Linked DNA regions of Homo sapiens: all the other regions are linked to region 3. The links are contacts of gene promoters, found by promoter capture Hi-C in human tissues and cell types (Jung and others, 2019). All regions are on one chromosome and are shown on one strand. The core of a region is centred on a gene start or on the middle of the fragment in contact, and the rest is flanking DNA. Distances in the headings are between cores, read along the strand shown. Region 1 overlaps LOC100507002 (a long non-coding RNA gene). Region 2 has its middle 160 kb from the start of LINC02563. Region 3 holds the start of PRKCA (protein kinase C alpha).

Evidence for each region. The method cuts DNA at HindIII sites, captures the fragments that hold promoters and counts their contacts. A contact is called where the count stands out against the background at its distance.
Region 1: a contact is called between a fragment that was not itself captured here and the fragment with the promoter of PRKCA in region 3, in 1 of the 25 tissues and cell types used here (dorsolateral prefrontal cortex).
Region 2: a contact is called between a fragment that was not itself captured here and the fragment with the promoter of PRKCA in region 3, in 1 of the 25 tissues and cell types used here (spleen).

The regions. Positions count from the first base shown.
Region 1 is chr17:65,107,545-65,111,640 of GRCh38, reverse strand. LOC100507002 (a long non-coding RNA gene) reads right to left here. Exons shown (of 3, transcript NR_110801.1): 3 at 546-925. Among named protein-coding and RNA genes, the nearest start is that of RGS9, 28 kb to the left of the region's middle. The HindIII fragment of the contact is 6,493 bases long and covers 1-4,096 here.
Region 2 is chr17:65,298,338-65,301,959 of GRCh38, reverse strand. No RefSeq gene overlaps it. Among named protein-coding and RNA genes, the nearest start is that of LINC02563, 160 kb to the left of the region's middle. The HindIII fragment of the contact is 6,261 bases long and covers 1-3,622 here.
Region 3 is chr17:66,300,071-66,303,886 of GRCh38, reverse strand. It overlaps PRKCA (protein kinase C alpha), which reads right to left and starts at 1,274. Exons shown (of 17, transcript NM_002737.3): 1 at 863-1,274. The coding sequence starts at 1,035. RefSeq lists an enhancer at 1-480. The HindIII fragment of the contact is 12,107 bases long and covers 1-3,816 here.

The DNA of each region.
Region 1 (4,096 bases), core at 1,258-3,757, 1.2 Mb after region 3:
TTAAAACCTCTAAATGATGGGGTTCAGAGAGCTTCCAGGTTGGTGAACACATCAAGGTGCTGGGAGAGTGGTGTGCCTGGAGAGGGTAGGAAAGCTCTGTGCTCATTCTCCCTTGCCTTGCTCCATGCATCACTTCCATTTGGCTTTTCCTGAATTGTATCCTTTGTAATAAACCAGTAATATTAAGTTAAGCACTTTCTTGCTTTCCACTAATCATTCTAGCAAATTGTCAAGCCTGTGGGAGGTGGTCATAAGAACCCCCAATTTGTAACCAGTTGCCCAGAAGTATGGGTGGCCCAGGACTTGCAACTGGAGTCTGATTGGGACAGTCTTGTAGGGCTGAGGCCTTAAATCTGTGGAGGCTAATGCTAACTCTGGGTAGTGTCAGAATTAAATTGAATTGTAGGACACTCAGTTTGTGTTGGAGAATTGGTTGGTGTCAGGAGAGGAAAAAAATCCTCACTTGTGAATATAGATGCAAAATCCTAAATAAAATATTAGCATTTTTGCTAAGGAATTAGAAAAAATCAAGCATCCATCTAGGGTTTATTCCAGGAATACAAAAGTGATTTAATATTCTAAAATCAATCAAGGTAATTCATCACATTAGTAGGAAAAAATAAGATCATAAAATCATATTGATATATACATAAAAATGATGAGTTGATAGATACATAAAAATGGTGACTTCAGAAAATGTGGTTTCAAGAAGTAACATCAGATTCATTTTTCTTTCCTCCCTTGGAGTTCTGTCTGTCCAGTCTAGATTGATTTGTAGAAGAGAACTGCAGTCTGTTCCACGCCTAGCCTGAGCCATGGCCTGTACTGCCTGTTATGTTGTAAGACCCTCTGATTTCCAGGACCCTCTGGCTTTGGATTTTGGTCCCCATCTTTGGGTCTGCATGTTTTTTACTGATATTTCAACCTGCAAGACAAAAAAGAAGGAGGCCGGTAAACAGGTATTATTTAACATAATTATTGACATATGTAATATAATTACTATGTCGGACACTCTGGTAGGTTCTGGAGGGACAAATATGAACCCAAGTTCTGGAAGTCTAAGTAACTCATCGAAATTCCCACTGCTGGTAAATGACAGAGCTGATATGTGAACCAGTCAGTCTGGCTTTGGAATTCATACTCTTACTCATTCTGTCACTAACTCTACATGACCAACCATAATACTAGGCATTAAGTGTCAAATAGACATAAGTTACACAGGCTGTGAAAGCACAAAGAAAAGACATCAATTCTGGCTAGGGGTGGGTTGGTTCTGGAAGGCTTTTAAAGAAAGAGGATTTAAGCTGATACTTAAAGATTTGTAACTGGCAGAAAATGAGAATGTATTACTCAGGATAATTTAGATTATGCTGTGGTAACACAGATTTAACCCAACAAGGGTTTATCTCTCTTAAGAAAATGCTAAGTCAAGTTGGGCAGTGTCCAGGGCCCTCCCTTGATGTCTTGACTCAACTCTCTAGGCTGCTACCATTTATGGTTTCTCATTCCATTACATGTGCTCCATCACTGTGCAGGGGAAGAGAGAAAAACATGGAGAATTGGTACTCACCCTTCAAGACTTCAGCCTGAAAACCCACACAACACTTCTGCTCATGGCCCAGTAATTCTAACTCAGAGAACATGGGCTATTTGGCAAGAAGTTGTTGCTTCTGCCCCAGAGAAAAGGAGCATTCCAGGCTGAGGAACAAGCACGTGCAAAGGCATGAATGGGTAAAACTGCATGGCATGCCAAGGGAGAGCAAATAAATCCAGGACACAATAGGTCTTCGATGTCATTCATAGACAAATGGAAGCTCTCATGGAGAAGCAGCAGAGTTTGCCTTGTTTTGCAAAATTATAGATGGTTTTAGATGTGCAAAATTATAGATGCAAAAAGGAGGGTATGCAGTTGTAGCCATGCCCTTGGACTTCGCAGCCTCCATAATCGTGAGCCAAATAAGCTTCTTTTCTTTGTAAATTGCCCAGTCTCGGGTATTCTGTTAGAGCAACAGAAAATGGACTAAGACAAATAATCAAGAAATACTTCCTAGAGGAAGTGAACTTGGAAGGGAACCCATGGTACGGCCAAGTAGAGAAAAAGGAGGAGTAAACCTTTCTGTATCAGAGGAAATAATCATGCAGGAGAGAGCACAGTTCAGGCAGAGGCAATGAGGAAAAGTAAGAGAATATGGTCACTAGAAGCACTATAGATGAGTCTCTTGTACTTAGACACTGCAATCCTAATTGCACAGGAGCTCAAAAGGGACAGCAATCATAGGATGGTCCTGTGGTTTGAAGGTGACTCCCAAAAGTTTGTGTGTTTGAAACTTAGTTGATAATGTATACAATTTGGTGAAGGCAAGAGAATATGATTCCAAGATTTCCTACCTCTCTGCCAAGCCAATGGTGGTAGTCAGTATTTAAAACAGGAAACACAAAAGAAAGCAGCCTGTTTTGAAAGAGAAAAACTTGTTTGTGCCGTGCTCTGGAACATATACACAGAAATGTGTAGCAGCCAACTGGAAATAACAGCCTCAAGCTCTGGGGTGAGGAGAGGCATCCCAGGATGAAGGTACAACAGAAGCAAAGGAATGGAGACAGGAAATATCAGGGTATACAGGAGACCTACAGTAAGAATGAAGGTCATTCCTCACCCATTTACTCTGCCCTTGCCGCCCTCCTCAGAGTTATTTCCCGCTGCCTGCTACACATCTGCACCTGGAGGGCCCCTCAAACGCAATCAACTCTTTGGCTCCTATCAACCAAATCCAGAGCCATCCATCCATACTGCTCTGTCTTCATTGAACTGTTTCAATCTTGCAGTATCTATTTTTCTGCCATTAATCATAATTTTTTTTTTTTTTGAGACGGAGTCTTGCTCCGTCGCCCAGGCTGGAGTTCAGTGGCGCGATCTTGCTCATTGCAAGCTCCGCTTCCCAGGTTCACGCCATTCTCCTGCCTCAGCCTCCCAAGTAGCTGGGACTACAGGCACCCACCAACACGCCCGGCTAATTTTTTTGTATTGTATTTTCAGTAGAGACAGGGTTTCACCATGTCAGCCAGGATGGTCTCGATCTCCTGACCTCGTGATCTGCCTGCCTCGGCCTCCCAACGTGCTGGGATTACAGGCGTGAGCCACCGTGTCTGGCTGCCATTAATCATAATTCTATGCACCATTGTATGAGCCCTCAGTTCACAAAGTCCTTTTAACATATATGCACGTAGCCGTCCTCAGAATGAGACCACTGGTTTTTCTAGCCTCAGTGAAGCTGAAAAATAGATGATGTCAGCTGTGTGACACTGGACCAGTTAACTGACCTCTCTGAACCTTAGTATTTTCATCCACTAAGGAAAAAAACATCTAATATCTGCCCTATCTATTTAAAAGGGTGCTTGTGATCAAATGAAAATAATGAATATGAAACAGTTATATAATCCCTAAGGCAATATAGGAACAGTGACAATAGGGTGGGAGTGGTAGTGATAGATGTTATCATTGTCACAATATGCCTTCTAGGGACCAGACAGTAAAGACACATAAGAAAAACTCAGTTAGACAACCTAATGCAAAGAGTGAGATTTAATTGAATACTTTTTATGAATCCAGTGGCATGACTGCTACAAATAAACAACATAATCTTTGTCCTCTGGGAGCTGAGGTGGTAAAGTATATAGAGAGAGATGACCAATACACAGCACAGAATAAAAATGTGTCTCATGTGAAGCATACAGATCCTAATTGCACAGGAGCTGAAAAGGGACTGTGATCACAGGATGCTTCTATAGGTTTGAGTGTGTCCCTCAGAAGTCCATGTGTTGGAAACTTAGTTGCTAATGTAACAGTATTGAGAGGTGGGGCCTTTTAAAAGGGAATTAGGTAATAAGGGTAGAGCCCCATAAGTGGATTAATGCTGTTTGTGAGTGAGATCATTTCCAAGGGACTGAGTTAGTGCCCTGAGGTGTCTTTTGCGTGCACTCACTTGCCCTTCCCCATTTCTGCTGTGTTATAATGCAGTATGAAATCCCTTACCAGGGGCCAGGCATGGTGGTTCACGCCTGTAATCCCAGCACTTTGGAAGGCTGAGGCGGGCAGATC
Region 2 (3,622 bases), core at 27-2,526, 1.0 Mb after region 3:
TGAGTTCATCCGGCATCCTCTGCTCCTTCCACACTCTGTTGTGCTTTCTGGTTCTCAGAGAAGGGGCTGTAATATGCATGGCTCCCACTTTTATCTGACCATAGAACACTTTTGGTGAGGAACAATGCATCCCAAGGGGCACTTTGAGAAACACTCAAATAATGCTTTGGTCCAATGGAGAGATGGATTCTTTGGGTTGTGTTTTACCATAGCTGTTATTTGATTCAGCAGAACTGGGCACCCATACTGGGTATAGCGTCAGGCTGAACACTGGGAAGGTTGAAAAGCAAAGAAAAGATAGGGAGTCAGGAGAAAACACGGCATATTTTAGAGGGCAGGAAGCTTAGAATAAAGCGGACTTGGTTTCAAGGCTTGGGTCTGCCCTTTTTTATGATTGCTGTGGCTTCTGTTCAGTTACCTCTCTGTGCTTCTGTTTCTTCCCATGTAAAATAAGAATATCTTGAAATGTTACCAAGCCTTGAAATAAAATAGATATAAAGGACTTGGTACTCACAGCACCTGACATAAGTGGTAGTCATCACTGTGGTATGCAAAGACTGTTCCCTTCATGGGCAGAAATCAGAGGACATTGGATCTCCTGCGATCCAAGATCTATGAGCAAATCCCACAACCCCCTCCCGATGCCACTTCCCCATCCAGAAACCTGCTTCCTCCAGGGAAGCCAGATCCTGATGATCTCTGGGGGCCCCTTAGAGCCCTTAGCACCTAGGACTGCCTTCTTCTGTAGACTCCATCTCCTACCTTGACCTGTAGAGCTGCAGCTGGGCTGTGGAACTTCATCATCTTTTACTATTAATTCAGTGGTGATCATGCCCCTGTACTGAAGTGGAGGTCTGATTATGAAGGCCTAAATCCACATTTTTCCTAGCATGGTGATGGCCAGCATGTTCTTCTTTCATCTGAAGGAATTTTCTTATAGTTCAAGATGCACTGACGCATTGCATTATCCCCCTGAGGAACCAGTAAGGCTTTTTCAGACTTGCATTTATTTTATTTTTAAATTTTTATTTCTTTTTGAGGCAGGGTCTCTCTCGGTCATCCAGGCTGGAGTGCCATGGTGTGATTTCAGCTCACTGCAACCTCCACCTCCTGGGTTTAAGCAATTCTCGTGCCTCAGCCTCCCAAGTAGCTGGGATTACAGTCATGCACCACCATGCCCAGCTAATTTTTGTATTTTTAGTAGAGACGGGGTTTTGCCATGTTGGCCAGGCTGGTCTTGAACTCCTGACCTCAAGTGATCCACCCTACTCAGCCTCCCAAAGTGCTGGGATTACAGGCATGAGCCACTTCACCTGGCCCCAGACTTGCATTTTAAGAGCACCTTGCCAAGCCTTTCTGCCCCTGTTTGCTTTGCAATTGACAGGGTCTTCCTGCCCATGTTTGGGTTCCCTATTAAATAAAACTCTGTGTCTCCACATTAGGGGATGGGAAGGTCTGCTGAGCTGCAGGATGGAAACACAGCCTATGTCAGCAAGGGTTTGACCTTCCAGGCAAATGTTGCCCACTGTTTGTGTTTCTTTGTCTCCACTATGTTCTGGAGGGACGTTAAAGGAGCACGGGACTCTGAATGACAAGAAAGGGATGTGAATCTATTTCTGCCACCAGCTCTCTGTGTGACAGTGGGCAAGTGACTAAGACCCTCCAAGTCTCTGTTTCTTCTTTTTTAAAAGGGGGTTAATAAGAGGTTATTTTGAGGATTGCCCAGTGTATTGTTTGTAAGGGACTGCCATAATAAAGTACCACAGTCTGGGTGGCTTCAACAACAGAAATTTATTATCTTGCAGTTCTGGAAGCTGGAAGTCCAAGATCAAGGTGTCAGCAGGGTTGGTTTCTTCTGAGGTCTCTCTCCGTGGCTCAGCCAGCTGTCTTCTCCCTGTCTTTTCTTTTTTTTTTTTTTTTTTTGAGACAGGGTCTTGCTCTGTCACCCAGGCTGGAGTGCAGTGGCATGATCTTGGCTTACTGCAACCTCCACTTCCCAGGCTCAAGCAATTCTCCAGCCTCAGCCTCTCGAGTAGCTGGGACTACAGGCATGAGCCACCAATGCCTGGCTAATTTTTGTATTTTTAGTAGAGATGGGGTTTCGCCATGTTGGCCAGGCTGATCTCAAACTCCTGACCTCAAGTGATCTACCCGCCAAGGCCTCCCAAAGTGCTGGGATTACAGGCGTGAGCCACTGCGCCTGGCTGCCTCCCTCTGCTTTCATATGATCTTTACTCTGAGGGTATCTGTGTCCCAACCTCCTTTTCTTATAAAGACATCAGTCATAGTAAATTAGGACCTGCTCTAATGACCTCATTTTAACTTAATTACCTCTTCAGTGACTGTATCTCCAAATGCAGTCACAACTTGAAGTACTGGAGGTTAGGACTTCAACACAAAAATTTGGGGGTGGGGGGAGGAGACACACAATTGAGCCCACAACACCTGAGGTAACAGGGGGAGTGATGATATTACATTGTATAGGGCACATTGCTGAACCCAAACCTGGTGACAGCTCAATGCCTTCAGTCATTTAAGGAGTTTTTGTTGTTAACAATCACCTGCAAATTTCATGCTGTACTGTATGACATGAGGCTACATTTTTAAAGGGTACTTGTAGGCTGGGCATGGCAGCTCATGCCTGTAATCCCAGCACTTTGGGAGGCTGAAGTAGGAGGATGGCTTGAAGTCAGAAGTTCGAGATTAGCCTGGCCAACATAGCAAGACTCCAACTCTACAAAAAATAAATTTTAAAAAATTAGCCAAGTGTGGTGGCAAGCACCTGTGTTCTCAGCTGCTTGGGAGGCCTAGGTGGGAGGATTGCTTGAGCCCAGGAGTTCAAGACTGCAGTGAGCCATGATCGTCACTACACTCCAGCTTTGGTGACAGAATGAAACTCTAAGATCCTGTCTAAAAAAAAAAAAAAAAAAGGACACCCATAAAAACACTTGCTGTTGGAGATGTAGTCTGAAGCATCTTCTGCACCCATCACTCCCTAGTGTGCACCCTAGCCTGCACCCATCACTCCCTAGTGTCCCTAGCCTAGAGTCTGTAGCCTGCACCCATCACTCCCTAGTGGAATGAACTCAAGCTAGTTACATAACTTCTCTTCTGGGCCTCCGCTTCTTCATCTGAAAGGCAGGGACAGTCATAGGACGGTCATGACAATGAAATGAGATAACCACGCCAAGTACTGAGAAAGCTGGGAGCATCATAAGTTCACGATCAAAGTGAACGATTGGTTATTGCTTCCATTTGACCCTGCAAATGAAAGCTGCAAGTGGCAGGAAAACCGAGGCTAACGTGAGGTTTGTGTGGTTCATCTCTGAATTTGGGTGCTTCAGACTCTCCCTCGCTTTTTCCAGGCAAACCACTTCCAATTCCTTTAACCTTTCTTTACAGGGCCCAGTTTCCAGCTCTTTGATCATTTTTGTGTCTCCTGCCTGGACATCCTCCAGCCTCTCCAAGCCCTTTTAGGAGGGAGTGACACAGACTCGACTCAGCAGTCTAATAAGGGGCTGACTGATGTGAGACTTGAGAAGGGGGATGACTTGGGGGCCACAGCATGTCATGGGCCTTTTATGTGTGCGGAATCCAGGGAGCTTTGAAGAAGGCAAGGCGC
Region 3 (3,816 bases), core at 25-2,524:
CTGGGATTACAGGCGTGTGCCACCACGCCCGGCTAATTTTGTATTTTTAGTAGACGGGGTTTCACCATGTTTGCCAGGCTGGTCTCGAACTACTGACCTTAGGTGATCCGCCTGCCTCGGCCTCCCAAAGTGCTGGGATTACAGGCGTGAGCCACCGCGCCTGGCCGACAGGGTCTATTTTAAATGAGTCCCTCTGCCCTTGTGCCATTTGCCTGCTAGAACTCCCCCTCCCCCACTGCAAGCTTTCAACAGTTTGCTCTCTCTCTCTCTGCTCACTCAGAAAAGTCAGTCTCTCCGTGCCCAGTAGATGCAGCCTACAGTAGGCAGGGGCCCAAGATGCCAGCGCAGTCCAGCCCGATGGGAAGCACAAACACAACCCCCCCACCCCGAACGCGCCCAGCCTGGCTCGCCAGCAACTTGGACCGCGCGCAGTGCAATCGCCGCCGCTCCCCCGTTACTCCGGGGCGCGTTTCTCCGGGAACCTTTGCCCCCTTAGGGCCTCTCCTCCTCCCCTGTCCCCTGGGCTCACACCCCGGCAAGCGGCCGCTCCGCTGGGTGCGTGCGGGTGGGCGCGCCCGGGGAGGTGAGGGGCCCGGCCCGGAGAGGGATCCCCTTCGCCACCGTACGGGGCCAGCCTCCCTCTCGCGCCAGGGGGTGTGTGTGGCGGGACGGCGACGTCCCGGGAGTCCTGCCCGCCGGTGTCAGGGCCGGGCGCGCGTGTCACTCCGGGCGAAGAGTTCGGACTCCCGCCGGTTCCAAGTTATCGGAGTGAGCCAGCCCCGGGGCGGACGCGCCGGAGCGCCGGGTGCCGGGACCCGGAGGCGGGGAGGAGCGGGGCAGGAGTGCCCGGCCCGGCACCTACCAGATGAAGTCGGTGCAGTGGCTGCAGAAGGTGGGCTGCTTGAAGAAGCGCGCGATGAATTTGTGGTCCTTCACCTCGTGCACGTTCTTCTGCCTCAGCGCCCCTTTGCGGGCGAAGCGGTTGGCCACGTCCTGAGACGCCGTGGAGTCGTTGCCCGGGAAAACGTCAGCCATGGTCCCCCCCAACCACCTCTTGCCTCCGCCGGGGAGCTGCGGCCGCGGAGGGCCGGGTGGGCGGGGGCGGCGGGGGAGAGGTGCGGGCTCGGGGCGACCCCGGGCGCGGGGCGCGGGCCGGTGGCCGAGGTCGCGGCGAGGGGGCGCGGCGGGGGCCGGGGAGAGTCGGGCTGGTGCTGCGCGGAGCGGGAGCGGGAGCCGGAGCCGCTGGCTCGCCCGCTGGCCCCAGGCTCACTGACAGCCCGGTGCCCGGCGCTCGCGCTTCCTACTCGCGGCGGCAGAGGCGGCCCGGAGCGGCACCGCCCACCGCGCATGCCCCGAGCGCGAGGCCGCGAGGACGAGCGGCGGGGGCGCGCGGGCCGGGCGCGCGCGGGGGTGCGGCGAGGGTGCGGCGGCGGCGGCGCTGAGCGGACCGGACCGAGTGCGGAGGAGGCAGCGAGTGCCTTGCGGTGCTGGGAACACTGGGCAAGGGGAGGCGGCGGCGGCGGCGGCGGCGGCGGCGGCGGCGGCGGCGGCGGCCGGGGGAGGGCCGGCCCGAGTGGGGATGCGGGGGAGGAGGCCGGGAGTGGCGGGTCCGCGCTCCTCCGCCGCCTTTTTCTTTCCTCCCCTTCCTGCGCCCGGCTCTCCTCCCTCTCGCCCTCCTCCGCCTCAGTTCTCCTCCTCTTCTTCCGCTCTTGCCGCCCGGCCTCCTCCTCTCCCGGTCTTCCTTCTCCCACTCCCGCTCTCTCTCTTGTCGACGGGCTCGGAGTCCTGCGCCACCCGTGCCGGGCCGAGAGGAGCCCGCGTCCGGGAGTGGGCTCCACGCGCAGCCCCTGCCCCGGAGCCTCCCGCCCGGTGCTCACCTCCTAACCCCTCAGCACCCGCAGCAGGGAGCCCCTTCCCCATCCTCAGGACCCCCGGTGTCTCCAGGGCACGACGCCCGTGTTTTAGCTGCCTGTACCAGCTTGAGGTTTCACCTGGCCAAAATGTCACTTTCATCACGTGTGCACTAAAAGACCTAGCCCCTAGACCTTCCTACAGGAGGAAGAGAGCGATTTTTAAATAATTAAGCATTGACCCTTTCCCCTACCTTCTCTTCTTGACCTATACCTTATTTCACCTGCGTGTGGTAGAGACTTTTAATTTGTACGTCGGGCATTTATCACCACGTGGGATGGTTAAAGGACTTGTCTTAGGTATTTATCCCGTTATTCAATGGCCACCAGAGCGACGATGTTGATTATCAGGCTTTCTTGATTTTACAAGTCCAGGACCTTAATTTAGAAATCATTTTGCATCCCAAGCTAATTACTGCAATACTGTCAGGTGCAGAGTGCAGCCAGTACGTTTGTAACTTACCAAGTAAAACTGCCTGTGAAAGAGTAGCGGGCATGGCTATGCAAAGGACGCAGGTGGGGATGCACCAGCTAATCACTCGCTGAATATTTATCAGGTCTGCCTGGAGGCCGCTAAAATACATAAGGGAAATAATCATTTCTCAGCGTTTCATTGGTGTTTTGTTTTATTTGCCAGATTCACGAAATCCCCAAAACGACTTTACGAGCTAAAGAGACCAAGAAAGAGAACACGTTTGATCCTTCAATAAATTTATGTTGAAAAAAAAAACTTTTCTAAAATACTTTCTTAGAGCATGTAACATAGGCCAAGTAGAGCTAATATTGTTTTCTTTGAGATTGCCTAATTGTGATGCTTGATGATAGGAATGTCCTTTATATTTTTAACAAATGGAAGCTCTCCTGACTGGCCGTCAGTGGTGCATGCACTTGACTGATCCATTTACAATCTCTTGAGCCAGTCTTGGTGCTTCAAGAGCCTGCACCTGCCTGGTATTCTAGCTGGTCAGAAATTTCGCCACTCATGGTCGCCCCTCGGGTCCAAGGAGTCAAAAAGGGAAGAAGCAAAGAGGAATGAAGAGCAGGGCATGTTGGGGAAATAGTCCCAATTCTCCATGAAACACTAGAAGCATCTCAAGCCATGGTGGTTTATTGCTTGAAAGCAGAAATCAAATGGAACATAGTGGAATGAAATAATTTCTTTTCTCATAGTCGTCTTTTATCTAAGACGGAGATCCTGGCACATTTTACAAAGACAAGCTTATTTCTATGTCCCTGAGGCTTTCATAGGAGGATGGAGAGAGCTGGAGGGTGAAGTTGCTGATAATGGAATCCTGAGTAAAGTCATAGGAAAGACAAGAACAGAATGAGCCCTGGCAGCAGCCTGCGAATCTCCTGTGTACTCCATGGAGTGACTGTCTTAGCTGTCAGTAGATCAGATGGAACAATGTGTCTGTTTTCTTTTAGGTTGTGGCTTTGCATTCTTGCCTCAGTTGTTAGTGTTGTTCCTGGTGGGTACGAGGAGGAATGATTGACTGGAAGTCAACTGATTCATGGTTGGGCTGGGCATGAAAGCATCAATAGCCCACATCTTAGCTCAGTTGGGGAGAGGGGACTGTGCACCCAGAGTGGGGATTTATCAATTACCAAGCAGTGTAACACTGTCCCTAGCAAGGACTGATGGAAATGTGGGCCAGCATCTACTCCTGCAGCCTACCTGAAGTCCCCATGGTATAACTAAAATGGAGGAGATTAAGGACGGGAGAACCCCCTGGGTTGGGGGTAGTCAGTCAGTCATGAGGGCATGAGTAAATTTTATTTTCGAGTCTGCTATTTCATGGGGAAGGTGCGGGAAAAGAACAGGGAATGTCAGACTGAACGCAGAGTTTTTCAGAATCCGCTTCTGTCCTCTGCCTTTGAGGAGTAAGCTCAACACTGTTTGGAGAGG